Regions from separate parts of the Homo sapiens genome. Here regions 2, 3, 4, 5 and 6 are each linked to region 1. Evidence: promoter capture Hi-C in 16 types of primary human blood cells and fetal thymus (Javierre and others, 2016). All regions are on one chromosome and are shown on one strand. The core of a region is centred on a gene start or on the middle of the fragment in contact, and the rest is flanking DNA. Distances in the headings are between cores, read along the strand shown. Region 1 holds the start of MMP7 (matrix metallopeptidase 7). Region 2 has its middle 5.9 kb from the start of BIRC3. Region 3 holds the start of MMP8 (matrix metallopeptidase 8). Region 4 overlaps MMP27 (matrix metallopeptidase 27). Region 5 has its middle 34 kb from the start of BIRC2. Region 6 overlaps MMP20-AS1 (MMP20 antisense RNA 1).

Region 1 (5,132 bases), core at 1,791-4,290:
AGGAAACAGGCTTTATTGTTTTTGCCAAAATGAGCCAGAGCAAAACTAACCTGTAGGTGACCACTTTGGAAGTCCATTTTGGGCTATTTGGAAATAGTGAGTATTCTGCAACATCTGGCACTCCACATCTGGGCTTCTGCATTATTTCTATGACGCGGGAGTTTAACATTCCAGTTATAGGTAGGCCAAAGAATTTTTGCATCTCCTTGAGTTTGGCTTCTAAACTGTTGGCATTTTTTGTTTCTGAGTCATAGAGATAAAATCTCTTGAGATAGTCCTATTGAAAAGAGAGTAATTAATCTATAGTTCTTGTTTATTATATTCTTTTATCTTAGAAGCCTATATATCTCTTGCCTTTGGTTCCTGTGAATTCAAATAATGATTTGAAGACAGAATAATTACATAGTCACAGAGAAAAATAAGTGTGCATTAGTGAGGAGAAAATTTAATATTGCTAATGAAGCACTGGCGTGCCATTTCGTGAGCAAAAGAAAAGAATCCCTCAATTTTTAAAAAATCCATTTAAATGTTTTGGGGAGAATTACACTGTACACTTTATAAAGCCTAGAAGTGTGTAAGAGCAATCAGGAAGCATGTACCAGTCTGTCCTCAGGGGTACGACTGGGACATTCTCTGTGTTATCATAGACCCTGTGGGGGAGATCTGAGGTCAACCAGCCCTATCTAAAGTCCAGCTGAGATGCGGTTCCAGCTAAAAGTTAAAGGGTCTTAAAATTTTAGCTCTGGGAAAAGATATTAGGAAATTATTAAATAGTTCAATTTAATAATCCGGTGAAGGAACCAAAGCTTATAGCAACTAAATGATTTATGTGCCCAGGTTCACACCTTAAATTAGTAGCAGAACTGGACTTGACTTTCCTGACTCCTAGGTCCTCTTTTCCCTCTTTCTGCTCATTCCATTCCCAGCCCTTCTTTCTGCTGTTAAATCTCTAGTCAAACCCACTTTGGGAGATTGCAGTATACAGTAGGACTCCCAGGTTTATTCCATGCAAGGTTGGATTCCTGGGAATTTCTCTAAAGTTTCTCAGTATCTGAATATGAGGATAGGAATCCAGCAGCACAAATACAACAACAACAAAAGTGAATGAACTAACAACAATAGCAACCTCACAGGAACATTTTTAAGCACTTACTAGAGCCAGGCACTTACATATTTATTTTATGTAAACCTCATAACCACTCTATGAAACAAGTATGGCATTGTTATCCCTATTTTATACATGAAGAAACACAGCTCAGAGAAGTGAAATAAATTGCACAAGATCACCTTGTGAGTAACTGAAGGAACCAGTATTTGAACTCAAGTGTTCTGACTTCTATACATTAGAAACATGTGTAGGGTTATATGATGCCTGATAATATTGTTGTTAAAATGATTTAAACATTGGCTCACTAATTTGCAGTTTATTTGGAGTAGATGGTAATGGTTACCTGTCTTAGGACCGCCCAGGAATATGCAATTTATGTAAGAAATCTTATTAATATTGTGTCTTTTTTTCCTGTTACCAACAATTGTCTCATTAAATACAACAAATACTTATTGTTCATCCATGACAATTGATAACTGATCCTTTATTTAAAAACAAATAACCCATTTAATCCCTTCTAGAGCTACAGACTTTACCAAGACACCCTCTGGAAGAAATCTCTCTGCTTTGTTGAGATGACTTTTCCTGTTTTTTTGTTAAACCTAGCTAACATCCCTCCAAGTGAAGACTAAGTTTCTGCCAACCTTCACTCTAAGTAAAGAAACTAAACGCAGAGTACTCTTTCTGGAGAATTCATTAGGTGGAACCATATAAAACTACTGTTTTGGAGATTTTAAAAGTTAAATACTAGTAACTTTATGTGGTTCAATCTAACTTATTATAACTGGAACTTTTTAAAAGTCTAAGTTAATGTGAATTAAAAATTGACTTTTCTTATGCTTAAGGCCTAAATTTACAAATAATAGTTATAAGTAATCATCCCATTAGTTAACCAAATAATAATTAGTAGACTGCTTATATTTATTAGACTGCTTATTAAGAAGCATATTGCAAGGAACATGATTTTTGAACCAGAAGCACTTGTCCTTGATTTCTATCTCTACCACTAATAAGTACACTAATCAGTTTAACTTTGGTTTCCTCTTTTTATAGAACTAAGGATTAAATGACACAATGTCTATATAAGTACTTTATAATCTACAATTGTTACATACATGCTAGTTGGTTTTGTTATCACCTCATTTACTTACTAGAATACCCCATGAGGTATAAAACACATAATATTATTTTTTCTACTGGACACATGAGAAAACAAAGTCAGATGTTAATGCCTTGTCTATTGTCATTGACTTGTTGGAGAGTTGTAATTTCTACCCATGTTTTCTGACTTCAGATATCTCCATTACAAACAGTATTGTAAATACACAAACAGTATATTTACAGGTTGTATCTTAAGAGGCAATATTCTGTATACTATAGAAAAAGAATCTCAAGTTATAATAAATAAAAATAAGAACTTAATTTAAACAATGTTTCAGGTATTGTGTTGAATGCTTCACAACACCCTCATTTGGTTGATACCATTCTTATCTCCAACTTCCAAATTGGAAACCTGAAGCTTAGAGAAGTTTGATGACCTTCCTGAGTCTATCTACATAGTGAGTGGAGGGTTGGAACTCAAGCCCGATTTGAGCAGATTCTGAAACCTGCTTTTAATGGCTACTTGATGAAAACATATATTGCTTTTATAATCCGAAGAACCACCCCAAAGAAAATTCCACTGCAATGCTAACATGGGAAGGGAAATAATTGAAAAACACATTTCTTAATGCAGATGGCAAAAGAATGGAACCCTAAGTAAGTGGGCTGTGACATACCTGAGCCTGTTCCCACTGTAGCTCACTCATGCCTCCCGCCTCCTGAGGCAGCGGCAGGGCCAGGCTGCCAGGCAGCAGGCACACAGCACACAGCACGGTGAGTCGCATAGCTGCCGTCCAGAGACAATTGTTCTTGGACCTATGGTTGATTTGGTGTTTTCTGCTAGTGACTGCAGAAATTTATATAGCTTCTCAGCCTCGAATGTGGAAATAGGTGACTCATTTGAGTGTTTTCTTTCTTTTTAGAGTCTACAGAACTTTGAAAGTATGTGTTATTTTTCATTAACTAAAACGAGGAAGTATTACATCGTTATTGGCAGGAAGCACACAATGTATTTGTCTTTCAAAGGATTTTTTTTTCTGTCTGCTGCATAAATTGACTCCATGAGAAACCTCATTTTTTTGCCAAAGTCAAATGACTGCTCTCATAGGTATCATTCAGGACATTATGGTACCATATATTCTTAAAGAATAATATATATTCTTAAATATATATTCTTATTATATGGTACCATGTATTCTTAAATACATGGTACCATATATTCTTAACAATTAAAAGGTTTGGAAAAGTGCACAAAACATGTAAATAATGAAATAATAATTAAGCAAATACTGTAACCGTCACCAAAGTCAAGAAATAGAACATCACCAAAATCCTGTGGTTCTCCATACAGGGGAAAGATGGCAGGAGGCAGATGGAAATGCTGCTGTGTGGCTGGATTAGTGGCCACTCTATATACAACTGTGCTGTGTCCCCTCACCTTCCACGTCCCTTAGCAGAGCAGTGATAATTCCCTTCTTTGGGTCTCCTTTTAATCAGTTTATGTCTTTTCTTAATGGGGAACACTGCCTCTAATTCTTCTTGAATTAAACACAAAAAAATACCAAGCCAACAAAAATCTACAAGCACGGGTTTAACTCTTCATCTGGCTTACTTATTCTGCTTCTCATTTTATAGTAACAGATTCTTCCAAGGCTAGACCTTCAACTTGGAGATCCAATTTTTTTCTTCCAATCACTCTGACTCTGGCTGCTGCCCAGCTACAGGTAGGGCTGCATTGGTCCTTAGTACACAAAATGGTTATTCTACGTATAGCAGTAAGAATCCATTACCTACAGATTCTAGCCCAATGACTCCATTCTTACCAAAAATGAAAGTGAGGCCAAGATGATAATTTAACTTATTATACTTCTCCCAGCTCACACAGATAGTAGCTCAGTGCTTTTTCTATCCCACTGCACTGCCTATTCATTTTGTAATAGGTCTGTCTCTTTTATTATATTATACATTACTTGGGAGAACACCATGGCTTTTGACTCTAATACATCATGGGAAACACTCCAAATATGCTGGAGCTAAAAAATTTAATTAATCACATATCACTTCAATTACATGGTAATTGAGCACTGTGAGCCAGCAAAGGTAAAATTTTCAGATCAGTTAATTAAATTTGCTCTCTTTACAGAGATGTCTTGATTCTGTACGGTCACAGTTTAACTAGAGTAATTGGTATCCTTAGTCAGAGTTTGACATGTGATAAGGTGCACCATAAATATTTGTAGAATAATGAATATTTATGAACTTTACTTGAATAAGCTAAAAATGGAATTATATCACGTTTTTGGTAATATTTGCATTGAATTAAAATCAAAAGGCATTTCCTCAAGTGAATGAGCACACAAGCCACAAATTGGGTGAAAATGAATGCAAAGACACATCCATGGCCAGGCGCGGTGGCTCACGCCTGTAATCCTAGGACTTTGGAAAGCTGAGGCCAGTGGATTGCCTGAGGTCAGGAGTTTGAGACAAGCCTGGGAAACATGGCAAAACCCTGTTTCTAATAAAAATACAACAATTAGCCAAACATGGTGATGCGTGCCTGTAGTCCTAGCTACTCAGGAGGCTGAGGCACGAGAACTGCTTGAACCTCAGAGGCAGAGGTTGCAGTGAGCTGAGATCACTCCACTGCACTCCAGCCTGGGTGACAGAGGGAGACTCTCTCTCTCTCTCAAAAAAAAAAAAAAAAAAAAAAAGACATATCCAATAAAGGACTGTTATCCAAAATATACAAGTATCTTTTAAAACTCAACAATAAAAACACAAACAATCTGATTTTAAAGATGGGCCAAAAACCTTAACAGTCATCTTACCAAAAAAGATATACAGATAGTGAATAAGCATATGAAAATATTCTTCACATCATATGTCATTGGGGAAATGCAAATCAAAACAGTAATGAGATACC
Region 2 (5,132 bases), core at 1,529-4,028, 220 kb before region 1:
CCTGCCTCAGCCTCCCGAGTAGCTGGGATTACAGGCGTACGCCACCATGCCTGGCTAATTTTTGTATTTTTAGTAGAGACGGGGTTTCCACCATGTTGGCCAGGATGGTCTCCATCTCCTGACCTCAGGTGATCCATCCGCCTTGGCCTCCCAAAGTGCTGGGATTACAGGCATGAGCCACCATGGCCAGCCCCCCAATTTTTTTTTAAATTATGCTTAACAGGATCTGGGCTTGTAACTTTAGGTGGTGATTAAATGGCTTGGATTCTGGCATACAAAAAAAACCCATGGTGACATGGTAAAATACATTATTATTGTAGTTATGGAAATTTAGTTAGAAAATTATTAGGAAAACAGTAAAAATGATATTTCACAAAAAGTAAAATATTTTAAATTATGCCACCAAACAGTTGCCCATAGCCTACAAGCCCCTTTTAAGAATATCAAAGATAATTGATTAAAATTTTGAAAAATTGCAAGTACTTTACCTTTAGATAAGTCATGCCCAATTAATATTTTGGATATGTTTCATCTCAAAGAACTTCCAAATTTATGAAATGTTGCCAACATGTAAAACTAAAAGGTCAAACTCATGGTATAGAAATATTTGAACCTTTAATATTGTCAAAGAAGAGTTTCAGCTAGATATGAATTTAGGAAATTTTAAAACAAAAGATTGATGTGTCCCTTTCTTTCTTTCATCATAAATACATACTGAAAACATTTGTGCTCAGTGTTCTGAATCAGGCTCATGGAAAGCGTAGTGGATACAGTTATGAAAGTTGCGCAACATATGCATGCAAATGCTATGGATCGGTGCCAGTTTACGGAATTGCGGAAAGAAGTAGAAGACACTGACTTGAATGATCTTGTGTTGTTTTCCAATGTTTGCCCAAGACCCTAGCAGGCAGGCACACAGGTGGCTGGACATCAAGGGGAACTCAACGGCGTAGGAGCACACCAGCAGGCAGGCAGGCCATTGACCGCTGAACAACACGAAGTTTGTCTGGGACAGTCAAAGGAGAGCCCAGGTCCGCCGAGCTGCCCGACTCCACAGGAAAACCATTTTTCTTCTGGCTCCCCCATCTGCTGAGAGCTATTTCCAGTCAATAAACCCTTGCACTCATTCTCCAAACCCACGTGTAATCCTATTCTTCTGGAACACCAAAGCAAGAACCCTGAGATACAGAAAGCCCTCTGTCTTTGCGATAAGCCAGGGGTCTAATTGAGCTAACGTAAGCCGCCTATGGATGGCTAAACTAAAAGAGCACCCTGTAACACACGCCCACTGGGCCTTCAGCTTGAACATTCACCCCTAGACACTGCAGTGGTGTCAGAGCCCCACAGCCTGCCCGTCTGCATGCGCCCCCTAGAGGTTTGAGCAGCAGGGCACTGAAGAAGTGAGCCATTCCGTCTGTCGCAAGCCCTGCGAGGGGGACAAGGGAACTTTTTCCATTTATTTTATTTATGTATTTATTTATTTTTGAGACGGAATCTCGCTCTGTCACCCAGGCTGGGGTGTAGTGGGGCGATCTCAGCTCACTGCAACCTCCACCTCCCGGGTTCAAGCGATTCTTCTGCCTCAGCCTCCCGAGTAGCTGGGACTACAGGCGCACGCCACCACGTCTGGCTAATTTTTGTATTTTTAGTAGAGACGGGGTTTCACCATATTGGCCAGGCTGGTCTCCAACTCCTGACCTCGTGATCCACCTGCCTTGGGCTCCCAAAGTGCTGGGATTACGGGCATGAACCACCGCGCCCAGCCCTTTTTACATTTCAATAGTCCTAAATAGAAAAGTGAATATCACAAAGCTTCTAAAAGAAAATATAGAAGAAAATCTTCATAATCTTGGGATAGGCAAAGCGTTCTTAAACATGATATAAAACACACTGAACTTAAAAATATTATAAGTTGGACTTCATGGAATTAAAATATTCTACTTATCAAAAGAAACTATTAATGAAGCGTAAAGACAAGCTACAAATGGGGAGAAACTGTTCACAGTGCACATGTCAATGACAGGACTCAACCCAGGGTATATAAGGAATTCCCTGAAGTCAATCAATTCAATTTAAAAATTGGAGGAAGATTTGAACAGGCACCTCACAAAATATGATATCTAAAGTGTCGAGAAGCATATGGAAATATAGTCAACATCATTAATCAACAGGGATAGAAAAAAGCATAATGGGATGCCACCACATACCCAAAAGAAGAGCTAAACTTAAAAAGGCTCACAATACTAAGCCTTGGGAAAGATGTGTAGCAACTAGAACTCTTATACACTGCTGGTGAGAGTGTAAAATGGTGCAAAGACTTTGTAAAACTTTCGGCAATTTCTAATAAAAATAAAACATACACCTACCCAATGGCAATTCCGTATCCAGGTATTTAGCCAACAGGAAGAATTCATAGGTTCACCAAAAGAAAAACTAAAATGGGCTGGGCACAATGGCTGGGCACACCTGTAATCCTAGTACTTTGGGAGGCTGAGTTGGGCGGATCACTTGAGCTTGAGCTCAGAAGTTTGAGACCAGCCTGGACAACATAGTGAGACCTCATCTATATTATTAAAGAAAAAAAAATCTAAAATGTTTATAGGTTCTGGGCTGGGCATGGTAGCTCATGCCTGTAATCCTAGCACTTTTGGAGGCCAAGGCGGGCAGGTCACCTGAGCTCAGGACTTTAAGACCAGCCTGGGCAACATGGTGAAACCCCATCTCTACTAAAAGTACAAAAAATTAGCTGGGCATGGTGACTCGAGCCTGTAGTCCCAGCTACCGAGGAGGCTGAGGCACGAGAATCACTTGAACCTGGGAGGTGGAGGTTGCAGTGAGCTGAGATGGCACCACTGCACTCTACCTTGGGCAAAAAAGTGAGACTCTGTCTCAAAAAAAAAAAGTTTATAAGTTCTTTTCACAAGGGATTGAACCAGGCAACAACACAAATGTACATTAGCAGGAAAACAGAAAAAGAAACTATGGTAGGCCAGGCGCGGTGGCTCATGCCTGTAATCCCTGCACTTTGGGAGGCCAAGGCAGGTGGATCACCTGGGGTCAGGAGTTCAAGACTAGCCTGGCCAACATGATGAAACCCCATCTCTATTAAAAATACAAAAAATTAGCTGGGCGTGGTGGTGCACACCTGTAATCCCAGCAACTCAAGAGGCTGAGGCAGGAGAATCGCTTGAACCCGGGAGGTGGAAGTTGCAGTGAGCTGAGATCTCGCCACTGCACTTCAGCCTAGCCAACAAGAGCAAAACTCAGTCTCAAAATAAAAGAAACTATGGTATATTTATACAGTGGAATACTACTATGCAATAAAAAGAACAAATTACTGATACATGTTACAATATTGATGAAACTAAGAAATATGTTGAGTGAAGGAAGCCAGTATGAGTACACATCATATGATTTCATTTGTATGAAGTTCAAGGACAAACAAATGAGATCTAGGGTGATAAATCATAATAGTGATTGTGGGAGGGGGAGGGGTGGTGGGGGCATTATAGCTTGGTACTGACTGCAAAAGAGCATGAAAGAATTTTCTGAGGTAATGGAAGGTGTTCTTGATCTTGATCTGGTTGATAGTTAACTGAGTACATTCATTTGTCAAAATCATAAAGCTATACGCTTTTAATATCTGTGTACTTTACATGATATAAATTATATTTTATTAGAGTACTATCAGTATAAAATAAAGTAAGCCACCATTTATGAGGGGTAAACTTCATTATCTTGACTAAAGCTTTACATTAGAGGAGGTTTCTTTGTAAATTTGATCTTCGTTAGCACTTATTCAAGGCTGGTGTAATTGTATTTTATTTGCAAGATGTTAGAAAGTTATCAACAGACCAGGAAATTGTCAACATTTACAAGGACTCTCAGATTTGCTTTGGAATTAGAACAGTATGTTCCCTGTAAGATTTCACTTTCACTTTCAGTTCTAGATTCCTGGGTTTCTTTATACATAAAAATCTAAAAACTTACAGTGAAAAAGCATTAGGCTACAACTAAAGTTGTTACAACATTATGCGAAATTCCCTCCAGAGAAAAAATATTTTTAATAATAATTCCCCCAAGGGAAAAATACTTTTAAATTGATTATTTGATAATAGGATATTGAGAGCATACCGCTCTCAGGAATTGTCAGAGTTCTGAGCCAGGAATGGGATGAAAAACTCTGTCATTCATACCTTGCTCATACACTGACAGTAGAAAAAAACTGGAAAACCAAGAGGCCAAGTGTGGTGGCTCATGTCTATAATCCCAGCACTTTGGGAGGTCAAGGCAGATAGATGACTTGAGCCCAAGAGGCCAGCCAGGGCAACATCGCAAGGCTCTGTCTCTATAAAAAATACAAAAATTAGCCAAGCATGGTAGCCCGTGACTGTAGTCAGAACTACTCAGGAGGCTGAGATGGGAGGATTGATTGAGCCCAGTAGGTTGAGGTTATAGTGAGCTGAGATTGTGCCACCGCATTTCAGCCTGGGTGACATTTCAGCCTGAGAACAAGGCTCTGTCTCAAAAAAATAAAAATGAGAAAACAACAACAAAAAAACCACAAACAAACCTAGAAAACTGAAGATAGTAATGGCTATACAGTTTGTGTCTAGCTTTCACTTTCCTCAAAGGTTTCCTTGTGTATTTCTGTCGTGAAAAGAGTATTTGGAGCTTGGAATTCACTGGCTTGGAAGAAAATAAGAGTATTTGGAGAGAAAATATATTTAGGCTGTGCTTGCTTTGGCAGCACATATACTAAAATTGGAACCCTACCAAGAAGATTAGCATGCCCCCTGCACAAGGATAACAGCTGGATGTTGAAAGGAAAAGAGGAGTTTTTTTAATAAAGTATGTGAGATATACAAAGAGTTAGAAAGAAAATGCAAGGTAGGTTACACCATTAAAGATGTGGATGCAGGTTTAGAATAGAGAAAGCCCAAGTGGATAGTTTGGATAGATTGGCTCTATTTTTGTTAGTCAGTAAACAAAGGTTTACTGAGCACCTTTGAGCAGACACTCTACTAGTACTAGAATAATGCAGTGAACAAATATATACAGTGCTTGCCCATACACATTTATCTAGGGAAACCATTTTTTTTTTAATTGTGCAAAATGTTGCAAAGCAGACA
Region 3 (5,132 bases), core at 1,197-3,696, 190 kb after region 1:
GAGGCTTTTTCATCATGTCCAGAGTTTCCTCATTTGGCTTCCCCGTCACATTCAACCCAAAAAATCGCTGCATTTCTTTAAGCTTTTCAACGATCACATTAGTGCCATTCTTCCTTGTAGACTGATACTGGTTGCTTGGTAATTGGTAGAACTTTTCCAGGTAGTCCTGGACAAAGACAAGCACATAGGGGTCTTGCTGTGAAAGGACCTCCAGTTCTCTGGTCATTTTGCAACCCTTTCTAAGTTACTACAGAGGTCTGATAACTTGACAGCCACAGGAACAATAACACAAATTAATTTGTAGGTTGGCTTTGAGAGAACAACTCTTTTTAGAAAGAACAGTTCCTCCACTCAGTGCTCCAGTTAATGGTTATGCATAAAAAAGGGTGTCTCATAAGGGATGAGGATCACATCACACAGGCAAAGTGCTACTCTACAGTCAGGAGACTGTCTTCTTGTTTTTACAAAAAAATTAGGACTAACATTAATTGACTTCTCTTGAGGTATTTGTTGCATCAGTGCAGTTCCTCTTTTTTATCCTCTTCACTACTGTAGAAAAGGCTTATTTATTCTGCTGAACAAACAGAAGCACAGAGAATTAAGGAATTTTCCAAGTGATGATTCAGATTTTAACTCACCATGTTGCCTCTCAAATGAGAACTGATAATTTCAAAATAATTTCAAATATCTTTTAGGGGAACAGCAATATCATTGATATTAGCATTTTATTCACCAAAGTAACTCTTTGGAAGTGTTAAATTTAGTCAAAATCCAAAGAGTTTAGCCTAAAAATTACCTATTTTAAGTTTGGCTTAAAAGTTTCTTCATACACAGTGAAATGTAACCTAACTAGACCTCATGCTGCCTGTGAACACCTGGCACCTTGTCAGTGTCTTAGTCCATTTTCTGTTGCTATAACAGAATATCTGAAGCTGGGTAACTTATACATAAAAGGGGCTGATTTTCTCTCACAATTCTGGAGGCTGGGAAGTCCAAGATCAGGTGGCTGCATCTGGTTGGCTTCTGAGATGGCCTTGTGCTGTGTCATAACATGGCAGAGAAACAAAAGGGGAGCAAGCATGTGTGAAAAGGGGCAAAACACAAAGGGCAGCCCCTCTTTATAATACCCATTCTATTAATTACTAATCCAGTTCTGCAAGAGCCAGAACCCACTCCAGCAAAAATTAATCCAGTCACACAAGAGTGTCATTAATCTTTCTTAATGACCTAAGTACTTCTTAAAGGACCCACTGTCACATGGGCTACTAAATCTTTAACACATAAATTCAAGGGACACACTCTAACCACAGCAGTAGGTGACACTGACCAGATCACACGCTTTGGAATCAGACAGGCCTGGGTTCAAATCTTAACTCTGCCATGAATTAACTGTGAGCACTTGGCCACATTATTTATCTGATTTAAGATATTTTTGTCTCTGAAATGAAAATAATAATGCTCCAATAAGGTTCTTGTGAGGATTAAATGAGATATTTGTGAAATGTGTAGCAGTTGCCTTGCATAGAATAAGCACTCAATGGACTTTACATTAACCCGGGGGTTACAATTAAGAGATAACCTCTTAATAATAATAATGCTTTCTCCAAACTATAATGCTAAGAAAACTGTGCATGAGAGATTTGTGACAGAATTCCCTTGTGTTTCTTAAAAATTTGGGTTCACTTTCAGACTGTGAAACAATGGAAAAAAACTATTGGTTCTGCTTTTATAATGCTTCCAAGAGTTTATAAACAGTCCACAATCTGATGCTGGGAAATATGATTTTACTGTGTACTGATTTCTAGTTCATTGTAATCTACCATCCTCACATTATTTTCTATATCTGGAATTTTTGGCGGCAAAGAAAATGCCTGTATGGAAGCACCAGACATATAGTAACTTGATTGCAGATATCCTGGAAGGAAAAACCTTAGGTAAATGAGAAAGAAAATGATACCATTTTATAAATAAAACCATTTCTTCTACAAAAGTTTCCCAACTAGGGGTAACTCTACAGCAGTATTTTCCCAGCCTTTAAAGAATTCAGCTTGTTTTCATGTCCGGCTTTTAAAAGGCCTAGTCCTTACCAGCTTGGAACCCTCCAAATCACTAAAAGGAGATGTTCAATCTCAAACTAATCACCCAAATAATTTCTTTCAGGCTGTTTTAATTAACAAGAGAAAACAACCCACACTATTTCCTAATAATCAGCAAATCAAACATCACCTAACTGATAGTTCATTTACCTGAACAGTTTTTGTATTTTTCTCTTTAGAAGATACAGGAAAGGCCTTGGAAATCTGCACATGGAGTAAGAGCAGAAATGGAAGCGTCTTCAGGGAGAACATGATCTTCTCTTCAAACTCTACCCCTCCTGGCTTTCTTTCTGTCCCTCTGGGTAGGGCCCTTCCCTGGCGAGCACCCTGACGTTCACAGCATCATGTGTCACTCACAGCTCTCTTGCAGTCCTCTTTAAAGCCATGTCTTAAACAATTGCTGCATCAGGAATATGAAGCAACATAGGTTAATTACACTCTGACAGTTTTGCAATTTTATAATGTGATTTAGTACCCCCAAATGGGGGAGTCTTTCAACAGTCTTTCAAAACTCCAACTTTCTACTCTTTGCTTTTGGATGTTTTAGTTATTTCCTTTTACAAAATTGGTTGAGGAAAAGGAACAAGGGACTAATCCTGAAGTTATGTGGATACATTTTTTGACTATGTAAGATGTTGAGGTTGAATTAACTTATGCAGGGGAATATTTTGAGGTTTGTGGTAGATATCTTGGGACCAAGGAGCCCAACTAGAGAATCTCTGTACTTACCCTCCCTCATTGTATGTGGAGAGAATGAGTGACTGTGTTATTACAAAGCAGGCTTTGTATGGGGCCTAGAGCTGCTTCTGGAGGATGTGGTTTGGTATCAACATATTAGAAAATCCCTAGTCTATAAGTTAGACTTTCCATGGAAAAGATAAAGAGAACAATACTGATGATGATAATAATGAACATTTGCTAAAAAATTATGATTGCCCAGACATTTGTACTGTGTTCCACATATTACCCCAATCCATCTTCACATAGCCTTGGGAGGGAGATGCTATTACTATCTCCATTTTACAGATGAAATCAAATCCAGAGACATTTAGATGACCTGTTTAAGTCACATGTTTCATTTGTGGAGGGGCCAGGATTCAACCCCAGAGGGTATGTTTAGAGAGACTGAGCTGGGAGCTACTATAAGCTCTGCATGGTAGTCTCCCACTTGAGTCTCTGGCTGGGCCATAGTGGAGCAGCAGCTCTAGGCCTTCAACAGCTGGATACTTTGGCTTATATTCACAGGCAGAAGACAAGGGAGAGGGAGAATGAGATGTTGTACATCTTCAAGGAGTAAGACACTGAGAGATTTCCAGACAATATGGCTACATAGGAGACTGTTTGTCAGAGGCCCCTGGGCATGCTTTTCAAATCATGTAACCTGGTCCCACTTATTCTGAGTCCACATGCATGTAGTTTGTTATCATACACAGTCTTTGTGAATACTCATTTACATATATGCATACATATTTGGTAAAGGCAGGTATTCTTGTGTATAAATGCATGTGTCTACATGTATGATACATAGCATGTATTAATATGTAAAGAGTGTATTTGAGATGCTATGATAAGGAGTTCTGATCTTTCCTGAGGTCACTTAGGAACTTTGAAAATGATCCAAAGAAAGGTGTCTTGGGTTAGAACATATCTGGACAGCAGATTAATGTTAATGATGTATATTCCTACATTCATTCAGTAAACATTTCCTGTCATCTACTACATGCCACATGCTGTGATGGGTGCTAGAGTATTGGAGATAAATTAATAGAGGTTTGGATAAAATGCTGTGGGTGTTTGGAGGAAACAGCAGTGGTGTGGAGGGAGTGAAATCAAGGAAGGTTTCATGAGGGAGGTGGAATTTGAACCGGATCATGAAGAGGTAGAATGTAGACATGCAGAGATGTAGCAACCCATTCTTTGTATTAATATAAATGTGACAGCTTCCTGCCAAATTGTTCAAAGATCACGGTCATGTTCATCCTCCTTGAGTTCATGGCTTAATGTGGCTTTCTTTACATTAGGTCTTTGGTGAAAAAATGCTTTTTCCTCCACGAAAATGCCTTAACATTGGTCTAACTCTATGTTGAGTTATTTTGATGCAATGGCTTGCTTACAAGGTTTATAAATGTACTTTCTTCTGAACATAACAGCAAGTGATTTAGTTGAGAATCTAAAACTTCGGTAAACTTAGTTTTTGGTGTTTGGGTAAATGCTATGTTAAAAAATTGAACGGTTGGGTCTGGATTCCCCCAACAGGCCCAGCCCTGGTGCAGTGGTGGAGAAGGCTATACTGCATTTGCTTTCAGGGCTCCAGCTTGTGCCTTCTGAATCCTTTCTCCACACCTGACCACTGTCTACCTCCGTGGTGTCTGTGCCTCACCTGCTTCTGGTCCCTGGGACTGAGTTCTCTCAGGCTCTCTCCCCCAAAAATCAAATCAGTCATTTACACTTCAGTGCGAACAGGAGTTGTTCGCCTGTTGAGTAGATATCTTGCTAGAAAAAACAAACAAGCCAACAAAGTTTTAAAAATGAAGGTATTGTTCATTATAACATGAGTTTCAGGGCAAGTTAAGAAGAAGAAAGAAATTTAGTTTGCCCAGAAAACTCACAAGGCAATGTAGGCTCTTTCTGCCTCTCTATTACTAGCCTCCCTCCTGCCCCTTCGGCAGCAGCCTATTCTCATAAGGATAAGGATATTCTTATAAGGATAAGGATATAGATGTGGGTTCTACAGCAACATAGCAGGTGTATTTTTATAGTTCAGTTTTGCTTTCTAGGCCCGAGGAGATGACACAGATTGCATAGATATAGTCTATTTGTTTTTTAGTTATAAAATAAAGGATGAGTTGAACCAGCTGGGGTGAGCACATGTGCCTGAATCTTGAATGATGAGTAGGAGTTGCCAATGGGGAATGTGATCCAGTAGAAGGAACAGCGTCCGCTAAGCACAGAATTATACCCAGTGAAGCCGTGGCTCATTTGATTCACATAAGCCAAGGCAAAATGTCCTCAGCTTCATGCCTTTCTGAACTCTCA
Region 4 (5,132 bases), core at 957-3,456, 170 kb after region 1:
ATATTTTATTTTCATATTCTGCAAGCTAACTATGTTAAATCGCTGGCATTTTTCATCTGTGTCAGGTTCTTTCTAATCTCTATGTCTTCATACCTTTGTCTCTTTGCTAATAACATATCTCTTCCACTTTCTCCTGGCTTAACTATCCTATTTATTCCCCAGGACTCCCCTCTAAAGTTATTTCCTTCATGTAACTTCCCTTATCCCTCCAGGTCTTATCCAGGTTGAGTTAAATGCATGGCTCCAGCTTCCACAGACTCAGCACTTGATTCTGTCATAGCCCGTAAGGACTGCATTGTTTGTTTCTGTCACCCTGAGTACAGGAACCATGTCTTAATTATCTTTTATTCCTAGTGATTGTGACTGCTTAATAATGATTAATGGATGTCCAAGTGTTGTCTAATGCAAAAATGGTTAGATGTGTTTCCTAAACATGACCATAGTGCCCTTTCCAGAAGTCTTACCAGGCATGTTAGAATTGCCTTTGTCTTTGTCTGCCTCTCCCACTAGTCTGTAAGGCTCTAAGTATAGAAGACCACCCTCTTGGGCCTGGCGTGGTGGTTCACTCTTGTAATCTCAGCACTTTGGGAGACCAAGGTGGGTGGATATCTTGAGCTCAGGAGTTCAAGAGCAGCCTGGGTAACATGGAGAAACCCTGTCTCTACTAAAGAAAAAAAAAATTAGCCAGGCAAGGTGACCTGTGCCTGTAGTCCAAGCTATTTGGGAGGCTGAGGTAGGAGAATTGCTTGAGTCCAATAGGCATAGGTTGTAGTGAGCCGAGATCGCACCACTGCACTCCAGCCTGGGTGACAGAGTGAGACCCGGTCTCAAAAAATAAATAAATAAATACATACATACATACATAAAGTCCATCCCTGGCTTTGCAACTAAGTGCATGGAGCCTAAGGAAAACCTCAGCTTCCCTGATGGAAATTTGCCTAGTGATGTTTGCATGAAGCAAACGTAAAAGGGCAAAGAATTATGTCATGGTCTTTGACACTTTTCTGCTCTTGCCTTTGTTGCTGCCCCTTGCCTGGCTGGCTATATCACTGTGTGTGCTTTTGGACAAGGAACTGGAAAAATGACTGTTGGGAAAAATAATTCAAGCTCAGATTTTCTAAATGAAGTCCAGATCTTTATTCTGGCTTTCAAGACCCTCTGTAATCTGAATCCTATTCGCCATTTTAGCCTTGTCTTCTACAATTCTATTCCTTATGTTGGATTGAGCTATTCTGTTCAGAACACTCCTATTCACCCTCTTCACCCTACTTTGTCTTCTTAGTTCCTGCTGAGCCTCCAGTTCTCAGGCTTGACATAGCTTCCTCTGCTGACCTGTGGGTCTGGGTTGGACTTTCTTCTGTGAGGACCTATTACATTGCCATAGTTTCCTTTATCTCAGTACTGATCCTACTGATTTTAGTTGCCATTTAATTGTCTATGTGTCCCTTAGACAGTGAAGCCCTGGAGGGCAGCTTCTGTGTCCTATATACAAGGGTATATTTCATTTTTATGACAGAGCCTGAGTCATAGTGGATGTTCAATAAATGATCATTGAGTGACTTTATTTACCAATGATTTGTAGAGTATTTCTCATGTGACAACACTGTTATTGGCCATATGACGCTGTAGGTAAAAGATGACAAAAGTCTCTGTCTCATGGAGATGTGACTAAATAGACAAATTTGTGCATTATACATTCATAGCTTTTCAAATATTTTTCCTTATGCCTAGAATGTAATTCCACCCTAGTTATCATTATCATCATCAATACTAACAATTGTCAACAGAATCTTTGATGTCAAGCACTTTCTGAGTGTTCACTATGGACAACTGCTCTGAAAGGGGTTTTCACCTTTATTAACCTAGTTAGGGTAAGGGTAATTTATTTCACCCTCCTAAAAGAAGAGCATCATTACTCTTTTACAGGCAAAGAAATAGAGAGTAAGAAAATTACTTGACTTGCCCCGGGTCCCTCAGCTGGTCAATGGGAAGCCCTGAAAGGAACCAGTGTCTGCCAAACTACAAACCATTGCTTTTTCTCCTTCCCAACACTGCATCTGTAGCAGTCTGTAAGGCCTGTTCAGTTGTTTGGTGCACACGTGTGTGCCACACACACACTCACAATAGGCTTGGCACCTGGCTTTGCTTTGAGAGACTCTCAGGAAAATCTCTGTATGTGCTTAAAGTCCTCTGACATCCCCATGCGATGACCTGTTCTTCCCGGAGGAAGCAGCTTAATAGCATCATTGGCAGATGATGTGTCTGTTGCTCTTAAGCAAGTTACACCAAGATTTTTGCCACCCTTCCATAAAACAGAGCCTCCACATTGCAATGAAAGAGGTGATCATATAGGTTATTGCTGAATTGCCTATTTTTTAAAAATTGCAATTTTGTTGGAGATTACGTTTGCTTGATATTTTATGTTTCCATTGGAGAAGAGGAAGGTATTTTCCCCTTTAATGTCAGTGAACTAAGAGTTATACAATTGGATCACAGAGGGCCCACAATTTCTACTCTGAGGGACTGAAATAAAGTGGTCAGAAGACAATCCTTTTTGGAACTGCTGCCTGGTTGCCCACCCAGAACTTGGTTGAGGACTGTATTTATCTCTTGCCTTGCTCAAGCGAGCCTTACCGATGTGGAACCCAGATACATCGGACTTAAAAAAAAATAACTTACCCCACATGTCCCCCTTGGCAGAGGGCTTAAAGCAGTATGGGTAAGAGGAACTGCTACTTAGCATTGGATTTAAGAGACAAAAGGATAGTGAAATCTTTGATCTCTGCCTCTAGCTATGAAAGTAAAGCCTGGCTGAGCAAGGGGAGTCATTCTGATTTTGGCAAGTGCTAGGATATTTCCTGTAACTGTTTGGTGAAACACACCCGCAGTGTCTTCAGACTAATACCAAAGAAATATTGAAACATGTCTCAGCAGAAGATACACAACAGACATGGTTCATTCCTTTCCTCTCTTGCTTGGGTGACAATGTTATCTTACCTCCTTCAATTTCTTGTCTGCTTGTGATGCTAAGTCATGTGGCAATGGCAGCAGCCAATCCCAGATTTTGCCTGCTGCTGCCTGAACCTCAGCCAGTACTGACTTTCGCCCTTTTCACTGGCACTTGGAAAAACAGTTGCATCACCTGTTCTGACTGAGCAGTGAGTGGCCATGGACCATTTTGTGTGACAGACTTTTAGTTTCACAGAAAGTGCAAAGCTGATCTAGACCGATTATCTGGAGATACATGGTCGGGAATGATCTGTGTCCTTGTATACTATCCATCAGGACCACTACAACCTGTGCTTTCCTGTGACTCTGGAAGCTAGACACCAGACCCAAGGTAACTATTGCCAATGACAGAACAAAAGAATGGGGGACCCAAAAATCTATTGAGCTTGCTCTTTTCTTTGAGGCCTACATTGCTACCTGTTAATATAGTACAGTTTGATATTTTTGTCAGAACAGTAGTAAAACACCTTGAATGCCAGGCAGACCCATTGAGAAAAATAAAATAAACTTACTTGGTTTGAAGAAATAAGTCAAATATAAGGATTAAGGTCTGATTCCTTTGCAGCTGGGCAAGAGTTAGAAGAGGAAGTTCATGCTTTGAATTAGAGCCTCTATGGGCTATGAATCCATATACTGTCCTTTAATTGCTAACTCAAAATTACCACCTCCCTAGAGTCTTCTTTCAATCCTCAAGCAACAGATGACTTCTGCCACTGGTACAACACAAAACATCTTCTGCCTTATATGGCAGGTATGTGGGCTGGCCTTGTGTACCACACAGGATCATGAACCTCTGAAGGCTTACACTTTTCTAGTACAACTTTGGGGTCCATAGGACACCTTGTATAGTTCCGGGCACACAGTGGCCCCTCAGACATTATGGGTGTATGAATGAATGTATAAATAATGAAGACTGCTCTGATCATAGTAGAAGTAGCCACTTTATGAGGGTGTATTGAACACTTCCATCAAGGTCATCTTGGAATATGGAAAATTGTGGGGACATTGGGAACTTTACAGTTAAAAAGCAGCTAGTTACAAAGCTATTCTTTTCAGGGATTCTTTAGAATAATAAGATTTTGTTCATAAAGAAAATTAGACTCACCTGCTCCATCCTTGGTCCAGTTTTCATCCTCATCAAAATGAGTGTCACCACCCAGACCCGGACCAGGAGGAAAGGCATGGCCAAGCACTCCCAAGGGACCATCAAAATAGCGAGGACACCGACCATGGACTGAGATACAATTTATGCGAGGAAAAAAGATCAGCTTCCTCAAATCTCCTGAGATAAAAATAGCTTTGCTCTCTGTTGAAAACCTTACCTCGAGTCCTAAAGGCAATCATGATGTCTGCAATCCCCTTTGAAATCTTGGTGAATTTTAGTGGAGTGACTTTGCTCCACACTTCTAAACCTTCTTGGATAGCCTCATCCACAGCAGCTCGTGCCATATCCGGAGTATAGTTTATTATTCTTAAAAATTAACAAAAATATGTCAATTTCTGGCTTATTCATGCATGAATATACACACATAACTACAAAAAACATTTCTAGCTTATCAATAATGTGCTGCAGTAACTTTGGTGTGGTGCAATTATCTTACAGTTGCATTAGCACTTTATTTAAATGAAATACTCTTACATATACTATAGAATTAAATTCCTTTATCTTCCCTATGAATCAGTAGTATTAACACTTCAACAAAGGAGGCTGAAAGAGGTTAAATGACTTCACTAAGATCACATCCCAAGACAGCATTTATCTCATGTACGTGTTGGCTTGTATATGAAAGTATTATAAAGACATTCTTAAAAAGAACTGAGAATCATTTTTTTGAATGGCTTGTAGAAATCAGTCTTGTGCATGTACCATATATTAAGAACTTTTTTTTTTTTGAGACAGAGTCTCGCTCTGTCCCCCAGGCTGGAGTGCAGTGGCGCGACCTCGGCTCACTGCAACCTCTGCCTCCCAGGTTCAAGTGATTCTCATGCCTCAGCCTCCTGAGTAGCTGGGACTACAGGCGCGTGCCACCAGGCCCAGCTAATTTTTGTGTTTTTTAGTAGAGATGGGGTTTTGCCACGTTTGCCAGGCTGGTCTCAAACTCCTGAACTCAGGTGATCCGTCT
Region 5 (5,132 bases), core at 1,665-4,164, 150 kb before region 1:
TATTTTTTCTTTCCTGATTTAAAAAGTAATTTTCATGTGTCTTCCTTGTACTCAAATGCCAGCTATTAAGTAAAAAATTGCATTCATGAGAAATTATTAAGTGTTGTTAAAATAATGTTATCTGTGAAATTTCTTTAGATGACAGTGTCTTGTTGCTTTGTATGTTATAGATACAATGTTGGATGAAAAATGAATCCAACATTAATTTCAGAAAACTCTTAAATTAGATAAATAGGCATTATTTTCAGACAGTAGTGTAATTGCTTTGTTGCATAGGTGTTGATGGGGTGAGGAGGCATACAGGCAATGAATGGTTAGTACCTCCTTTCTGGGTCCAGTCATATTTGACCTTTCTTAGATCTCACTCTGTGGCAGACTTCTGAAGCCAGGTAGATAAGGAAGTCTAATAGTAAAAACTCTCCATTTTTCTTCTCACCTCACAACTCTTTTGGATTCCTTTAGAGAACACATGGGAAGAGTGAGTAAGAATTTCTGTGTACCCCAGTCTCTTCTCTTGCCTTTGTTTCCATCCTGATATGCTGATACATGTATGTAAGTCCAAATGCATATACCTAGGTTCAAGACCTCATGAGAGAAACTCTCTCCGGCCATTATGGAGGGAATATAAAGAGGGAATTCTTTCCTCCCCCTCAAATTCAGTAGACTCAGAACAATGTTAAAACGTTAACTTTTCTCTGCCTCTCATCCTGGACTTGTGATTGCCAAAGGGATAATTAGCTCCGTCAAGGAATCAAATTAGAAGTCCTTTAGTCAGAACAGCCCAATATGTCTTAAGTCATAAAACTAATCCCCCTTGTTGTCACAGGATACTATTACATCTTTTTAAAAACTATTCTCTTTTTTCTTATTTTGCTTATAATAGCTACTCTATCAAGGATCCCATTTGCCAGATACAGTGCTAAATGCGTTAAACAATTGAGATGTGCTGTAGGTTCAGTTGTGTTCCCCGCAAATTTGTATGTTGAAGTCCTAATTGCCAGTACCTCAGAATGTACCTGTATTTGGAAATAGGGTTGTTAAAAGAGGCAAATAAGGTAAAATGAGATGATATAGTTGACTGCTAATCAACATGATTGGTGTTCTCTAAGAAAAGGGGATTAGGATACAGATGCACAGAGGAGTGACTATGTGAAGACACCCGAGGAAGAGGCCTCAGAAGAATCCAAACCTGCCAACACCTTGATCTTGGACTTCTAGCTTCCAGAACTGTAAGAAAATAAATTTCTGTTGTTTAAGCCACCCAGTCATTGGTACTTTGTTGTGGCAGCCTTAGCCAAGTAATACAAACTGCCGTTAATAGATACTTTAAAGCACATCGGCTCTGATCCTTTCAGCAATTTTGCAAAGTAAGATTTGAACACAGATCTGCCTGGCTCCTTAGCTTGTGCTTTTTTAACAAACTGTCCTAATAAGCTATACTTACATTTTTAAAAGTTAACATGGGCTGCCATCTAGTATAACTGTAGCAACTTATGATTTTTATCTATTTATAAAAGAGTTACCTTATTTGGCTTTATTCAGCTAGTCAGTTTAAAGACGTCTGTGTTTTTCACATTCAGTAAAAATAATGCAAAAAATATAACTAAACATAGTGTAATTTATACTTTATCTGCTTGCAAACTTCTCAAATGGACCTGGATTTGAGATTAGGGTTTTAGTCTCTTATCTTTTTTGCCCTCTTAATGATGATAATCAGTGTCCTAGCAGGTGCTCATTATGTTGAGCAGACAGATGAATGTCAGATGCTTTGTTAGGTTTTTTATTGCCTTCCATAATCCTTAAAACTGTAGGAAACATGTTATCTCTTTTTTATAATACAAATGTGGAAATTGAGGCCCAGTGAAACCATGTAATTTGCTAGAGATAACAAGTGGTAGAGTGTGAATTGTATACAGTCCAGGTGGAAGTGGCTCCAGAACATTTACATTTTTTTTTTTAAATCTCTTGCTAAACCATACTTCAGTTTTTGTTTGTTTGTTTTTGAGATGGAGTCTCATTCTTGTTGCCCAGGCTGGAGTGCAATGATACAATCTCACCTCACTGCAACCTCCGCCTCCTGGGTACAAGTGATTCTCCTGCCTCAGCCTCCTGAGTAGCTGGGATTACAGGCACCCGTCACCACGCCTGGCTAATATTTTTAGTAGAGACGGGGTTTCACCATGTTGGCCAGACTGGTCTCAAACCCCTGACCTCAGGTGATCCACCCACCTCTGCCTCCCAAAGTGCTGGGATTACAGGTGTGAGCCACCACATCCAGCCCATACTTTAGTTTACTACATTCTTAACTTGTGTTTGGATCTCTTTCTTCCCTGTCTTAACCTAAATGGGAGGAATTGTATGATTATTAGTTAGGCTTCTCCTTTGTTTCCCACATCTTTTCTTAAAAGAGCTCAAGTACCAGAGCTGAATAGTTTGCTCTTCTCAACACTAGCAACCTAAGAGACTCATTGCTTGTTGACTGCCATTCCATAAGTCAAAGGACAACGAATGGTCAGCTTTAAAGACACACCTAAATTTTTTCTAGAGGTGTAACATTTCAATGAGTATCCCCTACTATATGTAAAAGAAACCTATCAGTAGATAGTAGCAGTTCTTTCAACCCTTTTAGGTGCTCTGAAAAAATTAAAAGTAGAACTGAGATGCTGGCGGGACACAGTGGCTCACGCCTGTAATCCCAACACTTCGAGAGGTCGAGGCAGGCTGATCACTTGAGGTCAGGAGTTCAAGACCAGCCTGGCCAATGTGGTGAAACCCCATCTCTACTAAAAATACAAAAATTAGCTGGGCGTGGTGGCGGGCGCCTGTAATCCCAGCTACTCCGGAGGCTGAAGCAGGAGAATTGTTTGAACGTGGGAGGCAACAACAAAACAGAAGTAAGATGCTATTTGCTATTTTCACTGTGCTGACATTTGCAGTGATTGGTGCAGACACAATGGTGGTCAGTGGACCAGCATTTAAGAACCACTGGTGTGTGGTAAAACCATTAGACTGATTAAAAAAACAAAAAATGAATCTAAGAAGCATTGTATTAAGGGAGAATACTTAGTCTTATCTGTTAGGTTTTCTTCAACATAGAAGGAACTCTTTTTTCCCTTGCGCTTATCGTCTTGGTGCTTTTGGGAGAGAAGCATGGATATGCCCAGTAGCTCAATCCCTTCTTTCTTCTTTCTCTTTGGGAGGCAGCTTGTCTGAAGAGAGCATACTCTGTCCTTCTGTGATGTTGGCGTCACAGGGGCCAGTGACTGGTAAAGTTTGTTTCCTTCTAGCATTCATATTAGGAAATCTACACGAAAGCATCATCCTTCAGATCTTTTATCAATGATAAACATGATGTTTTCATTGTCACGTGATGACTCCTTTTATTGGTTCTAAACTTGCCTAAAAGGGATGTTATTTATTGAGCCCCACAAGTCCATAATAGATTCTTTTGCCTACTTGGTCCATTGGGATATGCGTGATTATTCAGGGGAAGAAGATTTAGATAGCTTAGTAGAAATGGAAAGACTATGGTAATAATTGATTATTGTGTTAGGTCCTGTTATCTTTCTGGTATGGTGTCCAGATAGGCTTTAACCATCGAGTCCTTGGAGCTTTTAAGCCTTAGCAGCTCTGATAATGAAAGGTAATAGGTAAAGAGCCCTGAATTTCAAATCCAAAGACTTTGCCTCTAAGTCTAATTCTGCCGTTTAATGAGGTCTTCGGCAAGCCCTTTACAACTGTTTCTGGTCCTCAGCTTTTCTGTGAGGGTGAATTTCTGTCCTGCTTATTCCTCACAGGGCTGTAGTAGGGTCTAATGTAGAGCTGCACATGACTTCTGTGTTCTTCATTAGTGGGCTCTGCTAAAGACGGTGTCATAGGTCTGATTCCCAAGTAGCAAGCATCCTGTTTCATATCAGACCTGGATAGACTGAGTCATAGCATTGTGTTCCAATCAGTTTTTTTTTTTTTGTTTTGTTTTGTTTTAAGGCAGGTAAATACTTTAGAATAGATATTTGTTGTAAAAGTTTCAAACAATCAGTATATAAGGTAAAATGTTTGAATCCCCTTTAATTTCTCCCCACTAGTACTTTCAGTCCCCTCCCTGGTAGTAATCACTGTTAAATTTGGTATGTATTCACTGTGTGGGGGTGTGTATATACACACATGCCTACATACATATGGTTATAGAAATGTTCTTAAGGTTGCTTTTTCACTCAGTAGTAGGTCTTGAATATCTTTATTTTTCCATGACAGCAAGCAAATACCGAATTATTTTTCTGTAAATATAGAAGTCATAATTTCAGCTTCAAAGCTACATGGACACTAAGATATTTTCTCTGTCCTATTTGATAATATAAAATCTCCTTATAGTATTTCTGACAAGTACATGTACAACCTCTGTTTCAGACAGAATTCATTACTTAAAGTATCCATTTTTGAGGCTATTTTGGTTGTTAGAGTAGTTCGTAGTATAGCACAATTCAGGATATTGGAAAATCTTTTACACACACAGGTGAAAAAACAGGATCAGGTCTAGAGATTAGTGATAGGTTTGGCAAAGTAAAGGCACAGAGGTGCAAAAGAGCAAGCATTGTCAGAGAACAGGGAGTTGTCCTATGAATTAAAACATACTACTCTTGTTTTACTGAGGCTTGGAGATATTTTAATCCAAAGTAGGAAATAAGTACCATAAGAGAGGTTCAGATAAAGTGCTATGGGGACTTTTTTTAAAAGAATTTCAGATGAAATAGCATCTCAATTGGGTATTGATTAAATAGGGTTAAAATATGCAAAGTTGGAGAATGGAGTTATAGGGAAGTATTTTCCAGGAAGAGGGAAAAACGAAGAAAGACAAAAATGCCTGAATCATTTTTGCAAAAAGTAGTTGTAGGGTCGATGAAGGTGAATAATGGGAAACAAGGTTGGGAAGATAGGATGGGGACCACGCTTAAGAGGACTACAAATTATGGGTTTTGCTATCTAGACTTCTTTCTTTAGGTAAAGAAGAGCTGTAGGTTTTTAAGCAGAGGAGTTATATGATTTTAGGTATTATTCACAAAGAACAATGTAGTGGCAGAATTGGATTTCCATATAAAAGGGGTTTGGGAAGGCAAGTTGTTTAGGCTTGAAGC
Region 6 (5,132 bases), core at 1,624-4,123, 140 kb after region 1:
CTCCCACTTATAAGTTAGAACATGTGGTATTTGATTTTCTGTTCCTCCATTTATTCACTTAATATAATGATCTCCAGCTGCATTCATGTTTCTGCAAATGACATCATTTTGGTTTTTTAATGGTTGCATAGTATTCCATGATATATATGTACCACATTTTATTTATCCAGTCCATCACTGATGAGCATCTAGTTGATTCCATATCTTTATTATTGTGAATATCACTGTGATGAACATACATGTCTTTTTGGTTGAATGATTTATGTTCCTTTGGGTATATATGCAGTAATGGGATTGCTAGGTAAAATGGTAGTTCTGTTTTAAGTTCTTTGAGAAATGTTTAAACTTTCTATAGCTCTTCACAGGGCTGAACTAATTTACATTCCATCAGTAGCGTATAAGCATTCCCTATTCTAGATGACCTCACTAGCATCTGTTATTTTTTTACTTTTTAATAATAGCCGTTCTGACTGGTGTGAGCTAGTATCCATTGTGGTTTTGATTTGCATTTCTGTAATGCTTAGTGATGTTGAGCATTGTTTCATATGCTTGCTGGCTAAGATTATGTCTTCTCTTGAAAGGTGTCAGTTGATATCCTTTGCCCACTTTTTAGTGGGGTTGTTTGTTTTTTGCTTGTTGATTTAAGTTCGTTGTAGATTCTGGATAAAGGGACTGTTGTCAGATGCATACTTTGTGAGTATTTTCTCCCATTTTGTAGGTTGTCTGTTTATTGTTGATACTTTCTTTTTCTGTGCAGAAACTCTTCAGTTTAATTAGGTCCTACTTGTCAATTTCTGTTTTTTTAGGTGTATTGGTAGTTTCATAGGAATAGCATTGAATCTGTAAATTGCTTTGGATATTATGGCCATTTTAACAATATTGATTCTTCCTATCCATGAGCATGGAATATTTTTCCATTTGTGTCACCTGTGATTTTTGTCAGCAGTGTTTGCAATTCTTGTTGTATAGTTTGTTTACCTCTCTGCTTAGCTGTATTTTTAGTTATTTTATTCTCTTTGTGGATATCATGAATGGGATTGCATTCTTGGTTTGGTTGTCAGTTTGGAACATTATTGGTGTGTAGAAATGTTATTGACTTTTGTACATTGATTTGTATGCTTAAACTTTGCTGAAGTTGTTTATTAGTTCTAGGAGCCTTTAGGTAGAGACTATGGAGTTTTCTAGGCATAATCCACATTGTCTGTGCAGAGAGATAGTTTGATTTTCTCTCTTTCTATTTGGATACCTTTTATTTCCTTCTCTTTCCTGATTGCTCTGGCTATGTTGTATAGGAGTGGTGACAGTGAACATCCTTGTCTTGTTCTGGTTCTCAAGGGGAATGCTTCCAACTTTTGCACGTGTTCAGTACGATGTTGACTGTGGGTTTGTCATAGATGGCTCTTATTATTTTGAGGTATGTTCCTTCAATGCCTAGTCTGTTAAGGGTTTTTACATGAAAGAGGACGAATTTTGGTTTTGCGTGTTGAACCAATCTTCCATCACAAGAATAAAGCCCTACTTGATTGTGGTGAATTAGCTTTCAGTTTATTAGTATTTTGGATTCAGTTTACTAGTATTTTGTTGAAGATTTTTGCATCTATGTTCATCAGGGATTTTGATCTGAAGTTTTCTTTTTCATTGTGTCTCTGCCAGGTTTTGGTATCAGAATGATATTGGCCTCATAGCATGAGTTAGGGAGGAGTCACCTCTTCAATTTTTTGAAATATTTTTAGTTGGATTGGTACCAGCTCTTCTTTGTACATCTGGTCGAATTTAGCTATGAATTCATGTGCTTTAGGACTTTTTCTGGTTTGTAGGTTTTTTATTACTAATTCAATTTCAGAATTTTTTATTGGTCTATTCAGGATTACAACTTTTTCCCGGTTCAGTCTTGGCAGGTTGCATGTTTTTAGAAATTTATCCATTTCTTCTAGGTTTTCTAGTGTGTGTGCGTAGTGATGTTCATAATAGTTCCTGAGGGTTTTTTGTATTTCTGTGGGGTCAGTGGTAATGTCACCTTTGTCATTTCTCATTGTGTTTATTTGGGCCTTCTCTCTCTCTCTCTTTTTATTAATCTAGCTACTGGTCTATCAATTCCTTTTATTCTTTCAAAAAACCAACTTTTGGTTTCAATGATCTTTTGCATGGATTTTCATATCTCAATTTCATCCACTTCAGCTCGATTTGGGTTATTTCTTTTTTTTCTGCAAGCTTTGGGGTTGCTTTTCTTTTCTTTTTCTAGTTTTTTTAGGTGTGATGTTAGGTTGTTCATTTGATAGCTTTCTAACTTCTTGATGGGCATTTAGTGCTATAAACTTTCCTCTTAACACTTCTTGGCTGTGTCCTAGACATTCTGGTATGTTGTATCTTTGTTCTCAATAGTTTAAAGAATTTATTGATTTCTGCCTTAGTTTCATTGTTTACCCAAAAGTCATTCAGGAGCAGGTTGTTTAATTTCCCTGTGATTGTATGGTTTTGAGTGATCTTCTTAGTATTGATTTCTATTTTTATTGCACTGTGGTCTGAGAACACGGTTAGTATGATTTTGGTTGTTCTGAATTTGTTTGAGAATTGCTTTATGGCTGAGCATGTTGTCAATCTTAGAGTACACGCCATGTGCAGATGAGAATAATGTATATTCTGTTGTTGTTGGGTGGAGTGTTCTATATCTTAGATTACATGCCATGTGCAGATGAGAAGAATGTATGTTCTATTGTCAGTTGGAGTGCTGTATAGCTGCCTGTTAGGGTCCATTTGGTCAAGTGTCAAGTTTAGGTCCCAAATATCTTTGTTAGTTTTCTGCCTTGATGAGCTGTCTAACACTGTCAGTGGGGTGTTGAAGTCTCCTGCTGTTATCGTGTGGTTATCTAAGTCTCTTCATAGGTCTGTAAGAACTTGTATGAATCTGGCTGCCCCAGGGTTGGGTGCATATATATTTAGGACAGCTAAGTCTTCTTGTTGAATTGAACCCTTTATCATTTCATAACGCCCTTCTTTGTCCTTTCTGATCATTGTTGGTTTAAAGTCTGTTTTGTCTGAAATAAGTATAGCAACCCTTGCTCTTTTTTGTTTTCTATTTTCTTGATAGATCGTTTTCCATCCTTTTACTCTGAGCCTATGGGCGCCATTGCAGATGAGATTGGTCTTTTGACAGCAAGCACTTGGGTCTTGCTTCTTTATCCAACTTGCCACTTTATGCCTTTTAAGTGAAATGTTTACACCTTTACATTCACACATATTGATATTGTGAATGTGTTGACACCATTCATAGACCTTTACATTCAAGGTCAATATCGATATCTAAGGATTTAATTCTGTCACTGTGTGTTAGCTGGTTGTTCTGTAGACATGATTGAATAGTTGCTTTATAGTGTGAGTGGGCAATGTACCTAAGTGTGTTTTTGTGGTGGCAGGCCTCAGTCTTTCATTTCCATGCGTAGCACCCTCTTCAGGATCTCTTGTAAGACAAGTCTGGTGATAATGAATTCCCCTGGCATTTGTCAGTCTGAAAAGGACTTTATTTCTCCTTCACTTATGAAGCTTCGTTTGGCTGGATAGGAAATTCTTGGTTGGAATTTCTTTTCTTTTCTTTTTTTAAGGCATAATCTTACTCTGTTGCTCAGGCTGCAGTGCAGTGGTGTGATCTCAGCTCACTGTAGCCTCAACATGCTGGGCTCAAGTGATCCTCCCACATCAGCATCCTGAGTAGCTGGGACTGCAGTACATGCCACACACCTGGCTAATTTTTTATTTTTTGTAGAGATGTGGGTCTGACCTAGTTGCCCAGGCTAGTCCAAAATTTCTGGGCTCAAGTGATCCTCCTGCATTGGCCTCCCAATGTGCTGGGATTACAGCCATAAGCTACAACACCCAGCCTAGAATTTTTTTTCCCTTAAGGATGCTGAATACAGGGCCCTAATCTATTTTGGCTCGTAAGGTCTCTGCTGAAAGGCCTGCTGTTAGTGTGACAGGGTTCCCTTTGTACCTGACTTTCCCTTTCTTTCTAGCTGCCTTTAAGATTTTTTCTTTCATGTTGACCTTGGAGAATCTGACGACTATGTGTCTTGGGAATTGTTGTTCACCATCTAGTGTATCTTGCAGGGGTTCTATGAATTTTCTGAATTTGCCTGTTGACCTCTCTAGCAAGGTTGGGGAAATTTTTGTGGACAACATCCTCAAATATGTTTTCCAAGCTGCTTCCTCTCTCTCCAACTCTTTGAGGAATGCCAATGAGTTGTAGGTTTGGTCTCTTTACATAATCCCATATTTCTCAGAGGTTTTGTTCATGTTTAAATTTTTTAAAAAATTGTTGTCTGCCTGTGTTGGTTTGAAGGAGCAGTCTTTGAGCTCTGAGACTCTTTCCTCAGCTTCGTCTATTCTGTTATTAATGCTTCTGATTTCATTATGAAATTCCTGTAGTGAATTTTTCATTTCTAGAGGTTTAGTTTGATGCTTTGTTAAAATTGATATGTCATCTTTCAACTCTTGGATTGTTTTACTGGTTTTCTTGATTGGGTTTCAATCTTCTCCTATATCTTTTTGAGCTTCTTTGTCATCCAGATTCTGAATTTTATGTCTGTCATTTTAGCCACTTTAATCTGGTAAGAACTATTGCTGGGGAGCTAGTGTGGTTGTCTGAGGGTAAGAAGACACCCTGACTTTTAGAGTTGCCAGAATTCTTGTGCCGGTTGTTTTTCATCTGTGTGGGCTGATGTTCCTTTAATCTTTGAATTTGTTATCCTTTGAATGGGCCTTTTTGCTTTTATATTTTTTGATGCCCTGAAAAGTTTAACTGTGGTATAAGTTGGGTGTAGTTGACTGGCTTCATTTCTGGATGCTTTCAGGAGGCCAGGGCTCAGCTCAGCACTCCTGAGCTTCATGCTCCAACTATGGGGTGCTGGGACCAGGTCTGCAGCTTTGTTTTTGGCCCCTCAAGGTCAAGCACCTGCTATGCTTGAGGTGCCAAGGTGTTCCCAATTTGCTAGAAGCAAATTGGGAACCCCCCAATGGCGGCTGCCAGAAAAGCACTCTAGCAGGGTCTCCTGAAGACAGCAGAAACTTGATTGGTGAATTCCCATCCACTCTGCCATTCGATGTCTTTTAAGTAGAGAATTTAGGTCATTCATATTCAA

The links. The method cuts DNA at HindIII sites, captures the fragments that hold promoters and counts their contacts. A CHiCAGO score of 5 or more calls a contact.
Region 2: a fragment that was not itself captured here is called in contact with the fragment with the promoter of MMP7 in region 1 in 6 of 17 cell types (M1 macrophages, M0 macrophages, M2 macrophages and 3 more); the score reaches 11.6 in M1 macrophages.
Region 3: a contact is called between the fragment with the promoter of MMP8 here and the fragment with the promoter of MMP7 in region 1, in 3 of 17 cell types (M0 macrophages, M1 macrophages and M2 macrophages). The highest score is 10.3, in M0 macrophages.
Region 4: a fragment that was not itself captured here is called in contact with the fragment with the promoter of MMP7 in region 1 in 2 of 17 cell types (M0 macrophages and M2 macrophages); the score reaches 7.7 in M0 macrophages.
Region 5: a fragment that was not itself captured here is called in contact with the fragment with the promoter of MMP7 in region 1 in 3 of 17 cell types (M2 macrophages, non-activated CD4 T cells and naive B cells); the score reaches 5.4 in M2 macrophages.
Region 6: a fragment that was not itself captured here is called in contact with the fragment with the promoter of MMP7 in region 1 in 1 of 17 cell types (M0 macrophages); the score reaches 5.1 in M0 macrophages.

What each region holds. Positions count from the first base shown.
Region 1 is chr11:102,527,707-102,532,838 of GRCh38, forward strand. It overlaps MMP7 (matrix metallopeptidase 7), which reads right to left and starts at 3,041. Exons shown (of 6, transcript NM_002423.5): 1 at 2,887-3,041; 2 at 51-277. The coding sequence starts at 2,994. The HindIII fragment of the contact is 6,591 bases long and covers 2,626-5,132 here.
Region 2 is chr11:102,308,988-102,314,119 of GRCh38, forward strand. It overlaps the pseudogene RNU6-952P. Among named protein-coding and RNA genes, the nearest start is that of BIRC3, 5.9 kb to the right of the region's middle. RefSeq lists an enhancer at 1,231-1,525. The HindIII fragment of the contact is 1,936 bases long and covers 1,811-3,746 here.
Region 3 is chr11:102,722,508-102,727,639 of GRCh38, forward strand. MMP8 (matrix metallopeptidase 8) reads right to left here and starts at 2,447. Exons shown (of 10, transcript NM_002424.3): 1 at 2,247-2,447; 2 at 1-166. The coding sequence starts at 2,348. RefSeq lists an enhancer at 1,654-2,853. The HindIII fragment of the contact is 5,644 bases long and covers 81-5,132 here.
Region 4 is chr11:102,698,639-102,703,770 of GRCh38, forward strand. MMP27 (matrix metallopeptidase 27) reads right to left here. Exons shown (of 10, transcript NM_022122.3): 3 at 4,332-4,480; 4 at 4,115-4,243. Among named protein-coding and RNA genes, the nearest start is that of MMP27, 4.6 kb to the right of the region's middle. The HindIII fragment of the contact is 8,436 bases long and covers 1-5,132 here.
Region 5 is chr11:102,378,685-102,383,816 of GRCh38, forward strand. No RefSeq gene overlaps it. Among named protein-coding and RNA genes, the nearest start is that of BIRC2, 34 kb to the left of the region's middle. The HindIII fragment of the contact is 6,214 bases long and covers 1-5,132 here.
Region 6 is chr11:102,669,376-102,674,507 of GRCh38, forward strand. The region is part of intron 1 of MMP20-AS1 (MMP20 antisense RNA 1); the gene reads left to right. Among named protein-coding and RNA genes, the nearest start is that of MMP20-AS1, 31 kb to the left of the region's middle. The HindIII fragment of the contact is 1,329 bases long and covers 2,210-3,538 here.